Regions from separate parts of the Homo sapiens genome. Here regions 2 and 3 are each linked to region 1. The links are contacts of gene promoters, found by promoter capture Hi-C in blood cells and fetal thymus (Javierre and others, 2016). All regions are on one chromosome and are shown on one strand. Each heading gives the region's core, a stretch centred on a gene start or on the middle of the fragment in contact. The rest is flanking DNA. Distances are from core to core; before and after follow the strand shown. Region 1 holds the start of TMPRSS7 (transmembrane serine protease 7). Region 2 overlaps PLCXD2 (phosphatidylinositol specific phospholipase C X domain containing 2). Region 3 has its middle 5.9 kb from the start of PLCXD2.

The links. Contacts are between HindIII fragments. The CHiCAGO score rates a contact against its expected background, and 5 or more counts as called.
Region 2: a fragment that was not itself captured here is called in contact with the fragment with the promoter of TMPRSS7 in region 1 in 1 of 17 cell types (fetal thymus); the score reaches 5.5 in fetal thymus.
Region 3: a fragment that was not itself captured here is called in contact with the fragment with the promoter of TMPRSS7 in region 1 in 5 of 17 cell types (M2 macrophages, erythroblasts, M1 macrophages and 2 more); the score reaches 7.7 in M2 macrophages.

What each region holds. Positions count from the first base shown.
Region 1 is chr3:112,033,413-112,036,175 of GRCh38, forward strand. TMPRSS7 (transmembrane serine protease 7) reads left to right here and starts at 1,324. Exons shown (of 18, transcript NM_001395507.1): 1 at 1,324-1,481. The coding sequence starts at 1,434. The HindIII fragment of the contact is 8,291 bases long and covers 1-2,763 here.
Region 2 is chr3:111,688,097-111,690,796 of GRCh38, forward strand. All of the region lies in intron 1 of PLCXD2 (phosphatidylinositol specific phospholipase C X domain containing 2), which reads left to right. Among named protein-coding and RNA genes, the nearest start is that of PLCXD2-AS1, 12 kb to the left of the region's middle. The HindIII fragment of the contact is 2,682 bases long and covers 8-2,689 here.
Region 3 is chr3:111,667,413-111,670,112 of GRCh38, forward strand. No RefSeq gene overlaps it. Among named protein-coding and RNA genes, the nearest start is that of PLCXD2, 5.9 kb to the right of the region's middle. RefSeq lists an enhancer at 523-572. The HindIII fragment of the contact is 1,694 bases long and covers 477-2,170 here.

The DNA.
Region 1 (2,763 bases), core at 74-2,573:
ATAAAGAACTTGATCAGATATCAAGGGTATTTCAAGGCCACTCTTGAATCAAAAAAAAAAAAAAAAAAAAAAAGAAAGAAAGAAAGAAAGAAAAGAAAAAGAAAGCAAAATCAAGGGTGATCAGATATCAAGGCGGGGGGATTCCTGCTAAACTGACCAGATGGGCCAAAGACAAGGCCCAAGGACAAGGTCTAGTTGAAAAGAGAGCTCAGAGTAACCTGACAACACTTTGGTCAAGAAGAGAGTCTTTGTCAATGGCCACCGATAAGTATACAAATTTTACTTATATTGGTGAAATATGAGTTAGTTCTAGAAATAGGTAGAGAAATAATACTGGAAAGATGAGCCATTAAAAGTAATATTATAAAGTCTAAACCATTATTAATAATTTCATCAATGTGAATAATAAATAACAAAACCCAAGAGGCGAATTTGTACATGACTTAATTCTTTTTTTTTTTTTTTTTTTTTTTTTGTTATTCTGTCTCATCTTCCCCAAGTTAGATCAAATTTCAGGTATGAAGCAACTCAACTAATCTTTCCCCACTTTCAGCAGGCAGTTTCTCACTTGCCATATGCACAGCCCGTGAATGATGCTGAAGTTTGTGTCTGGATCAGCAGAACAGTGTTTCTCCTTTAAAGCGTGACAGATCAGCTTTCTGTTGACACCCAGTGCCCACAGGGTGATGAGGTTCCAGCAATCCCTGCCTTTTTCTCCCCGTCTGCTAAGAGAAATTCTGACACTGCCCCTCAGGATTGGATTATTCTTCCCACCATGGATCTAATTCAGATTGACATTGGGAAGTATGGGAGAGATGGAAACAGGGGCTTTACAGCAGAAAGGGCCCCAGGTTTACTGAGGACTGACTGCAAGAAGTAGGGGGAGCTAAATGGAAAAAAGTCCCTTTGGATTATGAGTTCTCAGAGAGTATGGCTGGAGAGTTGAGAGCAGGACTGAAGAGTGAGTCTCCTGGAGCAGGCAAGAGATGCCACGCAAGAGAAATGAGGTGTGAGGACTTCTCAGATGTGGTGCTGAGGGTTGTAAATTAGACCTCTTCATATTCTTTAGGAGATGCAAGAAAAAAATTATAATGATTTTTAAATGTTACTGGATTGTAGGATTGTGTTTCTTATAAGAAAACCTTGCCTTGAGGCTGGCTGTACTCTGAGAGGCCTGACTCCTATGAAAGTTACATTGAGAATCCTTGAGTTTGGGGTGCAAAGCTGAGTGCTAGGTCCCTTTAACATTTACAATATAGCAATGAGGCGGCTTCAGTTTCTGAACTGAACCCGGTGGAGGTAAATTGATTCCACTCCTCTGAAAGCTAGCTTGAATGCGGTGACGGTTCTCTCAATTCTTCTCAAGAGAGCATATAAGGGGCAAAAACTGGCTTTGAGACACCCCTGGATGATCACACACAAAACGCCTAATAATGGACAAAGAAAACAGCGATGTTTCAGCCGCACCTGCTGACCTGAAAGTAAGTACAGGGTGAGAAACTTTCTCTTACTTGAATGCCATTTATTGTTGACCCTGTTAGTAAAATGAGATTGTATGACCTTATAAACATAAAGGAAACAATAATAAAATATTTTATCTTCTTATGGTAATTAATGGGTTTTACAAATGTGAGCTTATTATAAAGTGCTGTACTTGGCAATTGATTTGTAGCCGTTTTTCTAAAACTCCAGGGAAATTGTACTGATCTCTACACAAATTCCATTTTAAAATTTAATCAGTGCTAACTGAGACTGCCTATAATGTGTTTCTGCACTTAAAAGATCCAAACTTGGCTTTGTCAGTTCAACATGTACTGGCATTTCTGCGTGTTTCTTTATTTCTTTTGGGGGAGCACTTGAAAGTAGCTTGATACCATCGACAACTCATTCTACAATGGAATGTTTCTCTCTTTAGAAACCCAGTCCTCATTCCTGCAGGACACCACATTAAATGATGTCTGGTCTAGTTCAATTTCACCAGAAAGGATACAAGCAACACTTCACTCCAGGGGTTGACAAGGTGTTTGGCAAAAAGAATGAAGGGGCCATGAATAATTCAGAGTGTACGTGGCCACGTATTATCCCATTAATTGGCAAGATTAAAGACTGGAGGGCATGAATTTTGAAGAGAAGAGTGAGGGAGAGGAAAAGAGAAGGAGAGAACTCTTAAGGACAGTGCAAAAGAGAGATTATTTCTTTGGCATTGGCATTCCATATTGTTGCCTTTAAAAGAATGTGTGGTTAAAAGCTATTTCGTCTCTGGAGTTTAGTTACCCTGACTTGTATAAATCTCTCCTTAAATGAAGCTAAACTCTTGAATACATTATTAAAGAATTCACAGCATCAAATAGCAGAGGGTAGACAAGAAAATAAAAGAGGAGGAAGGGAAACAATTAAATAATGTATTTTTTACTCTTGCACATAACACTATGCACATCAATACACTTAAACCAACAATTTTCTAATCTAATGAGTGTTCTATTTCATTCTTCCATTTACTTTTAAATAATTATTTCATTTATAATTGAGAAACTGTGGCTGGCAATGGCAGCGGCTGGCAATGGCAAAACAAACATATTTAATTCCTATAAACCCACAACCCTACAACCGTATGTAAACACACATGCTTTACGAACAATTTGTGCAGTTACAAATTGCACAAATTTGTACAATCTATGCAAATTATCATATCACCTTTACTTTTCCTTCCTACCACCCAGTCATGAAGCTGTAACTAGGAAATCAATTCATTTCTGTGGGGAA
Region 2 (2,700 bases), core at 99-2,598, 350 kb before region 1:
AGTAAAAAGCTTTACCCCTCTGTCTGTTAGTTTTTTCATCTGTAAAATTGAGATAATTATAATATCCACTTCAAAAGTGCAAAGTTAGAGGAAGCACAAGCTGGAAGACTACCCTCACTCTGATACCAGTTACAGGTTTGGGAGCCTTAAGATCACCCTTGTTTGATAATTTGCTAGGAAGATTGACAGAACTCATTGAAAGTTGTTATACTCATAGTTACTGTTTATTGCTCTGAAAGGCTGCAGATCAAAATCAGCTAAAGGAAGAGGTGCATGGAGCAAAGTTCAGGAAATTTCCAAATGTGGAGCTTCCAGTTGTCCTCTTCTCATGGACAGTGTTTCTTTCCTCGTATTGATGTGTGACAGTACCACACAAAGTACTGCTAACCAGGGAAGCTCACCTGAGCTTTGGTGTCCAGAATCTTTTCTGGTCTTCCACATGGCTGACCTAAGTATCCAGCCCCTTCAGAGGTTAAGCCCATGCCCATGTGACTCAAATCCTGCACCATAAATCACATCCTTATACTTTCCCTTATGGCCCAAAGCTGTCAGGTAAATAAAGATACTTTGATCAGGCAGGACATTCCAAGGGCTTAAGCAATTGCCTCCCAAGGACTGAGGGCGAAGACCATACCTCCTTTTGGGTAAGGTTTAAATTTTTTACTACACAACAAAGTTACTTAAGAATTAAATTTCAAAAAAGAATTAAACAAGATAAATGTAAATTAACTTTAAAAAAAGAATTAAATAAGATATACAATGTGATTAGAATATTGCCAATTATGAAATAAATATGTTATATATATATATAGCTATTATTATTAAACATCCTTTTGATTACTTAATATATACCTAATATCATAATAGCTACTGTGGGACATTTTTAAAAAATGAACAAGATGTAGTTTGTAGATCTTATAAGAGATATACAAGAGTTCAAATAAAGTAAATAAAAGCAGAATGAGGTGAGTACCATGATAAAGAAACAAGCAAACTGTGCTGGGACCTGGAAAGGGAAAGGTTACTTCTAGTTGGTGGGTAAGGAACTGCTTCAGGAGAAGAGCACCTGTGAGCTGGACTGTGAGAGACAGGGAGGATTTCAACATGAAGAGGGAAGGACATTCCAGAGACAGGGAAGCAAATGCCCAAAATTAGAGATGAGAAAACAAGGGCACCTTCAGGAAACAGAGAAGGGCTGCCATGGTCACCTGTAGAAGTGACAGGAGAAGGAAATGGGAAAGTTACGGAAAGACAGACAAGCCAGTTGGAGAGAGATTTTCAGCACTGTGCTAAGCACTTTATGCTTTGTGTTGTAGACCATAGGGAGCCAGTGACAATTTTGGGCTTGAAGAAAACTGTGAAAGAAAGTGTTCTATCCCTGTTATAATTCCAGTCTTTGAACACCCTCCCTTCCAATAACCCACCTTCGCTTTGCCTCGCCAATTACAGTTCAGTTCAGGTATGACCTCTGTGCACATTTCCATTATAGGACATGATATACCCCATTGGGACTGTTTCTCTCTGCTGTATACAACTGTTTTGTCATTTCTGTATACTTGCTGTCTTGTTCAGAATAAGCACCTTATGATAAAAGTGGAGGGAAAGAAGAAGGAGGGGAAAGATGGAATCTTGAAATATATCTACAAAGAATTTAAGCATAAAAAACAGATATTTAAAAATCTATATTTCTAGTTAAGGAGAAACTAGGACAGGCAGGAAGCAAGTAGTAACGCCTAAGGTAAGACAAAATCTTATAACTGCATTGCAGTCTTCTCAAGATGCCTCAAGGCTTTAAGAGTAAGAACAAGTATAATAATAATAAAAGAAGCAGAAGAAAGATAGCTTGCTCATTTAATATTTATATAGCACTTCCTAGGGGACCGATATTGCTGTTTGATTTATATAAAGCCAATTAATTATTATAATAAATTAATGATGTAGATACTCCTACTATCCCCATTTTACAGATGAAGAAATTCAGTCACAGAGAGGTTAAGCAGATGGCCCCCCAAAATCCTGATAACAATACTAGAATTGTAAAAATTAGGTCATGCCAAATTCATTTAATTGCATTTGAATAAAAGTCATTGATAGAGTTGGAGATTGACCCAGTGTTGGGTTGTAACTTTAGTTTCTTTTGTTGGTTGTAATAAAGGGTAATTTTCTTTTCATCTGAGGCCATTTGCTCCCATGTCGGGACTCTAATGCATGAGCACCCATGAGGATGGTGATGTTTGAAGGACTACATGCTGACCTGTTCTGGCTGAACAAGTTACATTTTTTTTTTCAAGACCAGACATCTAGGAGGCTTTTTATTGACTCAGAACAAAAGCAGCCCAGTGGTTTAAGTGGTCTATGTAGTAATCACCCAGCAAGGCTCCGGCACAGAAAAAAATCTATCTGGCCTCTATTCTGCCTCTACACAGAAAGACCAGCATGAGGCTTTAGCAGGTGTGTAAGCTCTCAGAACACTGGTCTTCAAGGGTGGGGTGTGTTTTCATTCACTTTCCCCGTTGGGTGTAATGTACAAATTCCCTTTAAGCCCACCATTTCATGTAATTTAAACTGCTACTTACTGGATTTTCTCTCCTCCCTTTTCCCTTTCCTCTGTCAGAACACCTAGCTTAGGCCTTTATTTACAGGAAAGAGAAAAAAACCTCTTCTTATCCTGGAGGGGAACTAGCTAAGAAGCTTCTCTGT
Region 3 (2,700 bases), core at 74-2,573, 370 kb before region 1:
GGAGGCACTAAAGGTGACTTCCATCCAGGTCATTCATACTTCCCACTCTGAGAGCTTCATTATGTGTTTTCTGAGCCTGACTGCCTGAGCTAAGCGCATCTCATCCTGGGTGCTGAATGCGGGGAGAGGGTAGAGAAAATGTTGAGGTGTCCCCAGAGGCTAGAACGTGTTACCAGTATAAAGGTACTCCCCAAAACACAATCTCAAGCTTTTGCTGGTAGCCGCATGATTTTAGAATATTAGGTCCATATTTATATAGAAGTTCTGTTAGTCCTGACTACAGCAAATGAAGTCAAAGATTTGAGTGAGGAAAGGCAATAAAAAGGAAAGAAAGGCTTAACTGTGCAAAGACAAAAGGTATCTACAGCAGGCAGAGGGAAAAAAACAGAGTACGGTTGGAAAGACCGTGAAGTTCATGTAGTTCAATCAAGCATCAGGTGCTTCAATTCTATCATGTTACTGTCTTATTGGTGCCAAGCTTGGCTTGGATGCTTCCAGTTATAGGAACTCACTTCCTCCTCTACTTCATTATATTGCTTAACTCTGACTTCTAGAATATTCTCCTTTATACTTGGCTGAAACAGAAAGATGTGTGGCATAAATTTTACTTTCTCTTTTACTTCTGCTACTCAAAGGAAGAGGAAGCTGTGGGTGCAGATGTTGCTAAGATAAACTACAACTTCCTCCATGACCAGTTTCTGCAGTTTAGGAAGGGCAGAGCCGAACACGTGGCTGAGTTGGGGAGTTAACTACAGACACTTAAGCAAATCAGAATCCTTTGAAACAAAATCATCAAAAGGCCAAGAAGCATTTGTAAGGGCTTTTGACTACAACCTAACATTCAGAGAGAGTTGATCAGAGAGAGTTGTTGACACACTAAAAATTCATTACTTTTATTTACATTGAAATTTATTTACTTTATTAAAAAATATTTTTGTTGGTTAAGGTTGTTTGTACAAACTTGTAATTTTAATATTTAAAAAGTTGGAAGAGAATGATAGTATTAGGTAATGATAATATTACTAATTTTTACTCCATGGATGAGGTGGCATCATGCTATTTCCAATTGATAGTGGCACACCAAATTGCAGAGTCATGTTGTTAAAAGAATGCATTCCCAAGATTAGATTGGTTAAATGATAACAAATGCACAGAGGTCATTCTGTTGTGACTGAAGCTCAAGTGATTACTAATATACACATTAATACAACAATGTCTCCTAATAATAGACATAATTCTCATAATTCTAGGAACCTTGGGGTGGGGTGGTAGCCTGGAGAAAAAAAAGGTAAGGGTGGCAGATCAATTGATTTTCCTGCTAGTTGAGATCAACTATCTCTGCCAAAATAGTCTTCCTAATTGCATAAAGTTATATGCAGCATGGATAAGAATTGTTTACTCTGCCATTCTACCTATTTTAACTTTTTTAAAAAAGAGAAATTTGTTGACATTTCAAAGCCTTCATCTCAAACATTTGAGACATAAAAATCCCCTGAGGAGAACATTTTAAAGACAGGAGGAAAAGATGCCATCCCAGAGGATCTGATGCAGGAGGGTTGGCATTTGATCCAGAAATCTGTATATTGCATAAACTCCTAGTTGTTCCTGTTGCTGGTGATCTACAGGCATTTTTAGGAATAATTGACACTGACAGAACATATTATACGTGCCTGAAGTGAGCCTTGAATACCAGTAGGTGGCTCTATAACATCTTAAATCAGGGACTTTGCAGCTAACTAGCTAACTAGCTAGAAAATAAAGGCTCTGAGGCCTTTATTTCCTCTCAATTTCCTTTTCAGGGATTGGAGGTGGCGTGGGAAGGAGAAATGGAAGAGGATGCTGGAATGTGGTGTGGTAGACGGAAATGAATGGATATTAAAATGAATTTTACAATCATCACTTGTTAGTAGCCCTCTCAAAAGTATTATAGTAACGACTACTGTTAAAATAAATTTTCTGAAAGCATACCAGAAAAACTTAATGTCCAATAAACTTAAAAGGCACAGAGGCTCTTAGGGTCTTCCTGAACACCGAGCTTTCAAATCTGGGAGAAACAATCTTATGGCCAGCCATTGCTGCCGTTCACTCTTGTCTCATTACAGAATCCCAGTTGTGGGCCATAAATACCAAGTGGGCATGAGGTAATATAGACAACGCTACTTCCTGCTTAAGCTTCTGCTTCTCTTCTACCCAGTTTCTCAAGGACACACCACCTGGGTATAATCCGGGAATGGTCACAGTAAAAATGACAAAACAATAGTCTCCGGCTCTACCCCAATCAACAAAATAAGTGGATCCCAATCCTCTGTCTTCTGATGTCAGGAATGTGTAAGTTGTATCATGTGTCCACAAGTGTGTGCCTCAGTGTCTCCATTTCCTTGGAGGCTCCTGAAGATCCCCAGTTGCTGCAATGATGTCACTCTTCCTGGAGGTAATTGCTGCTGCTGTCGTCACGTCCCAGCACCACCTATGTTGGTTGCATCTCCTCATTCTCCTCTGATCTTTATCATACAGTCTTTTGGCTTGAGCTGGGTGAAGAAGCTTGGGAAAGACTAGGAATAAACTCTACTGGTACGAGGCCATAAAGCAAAGCAGCTTCTACTCCATCCCATCTTTCGTTTACTTGGCTCCTCATTTCAGTCCCTTATTCCTTTTCCACCCACCCCACTCCCCAGCCAGAAAAAAAAATTGTGTGTGACG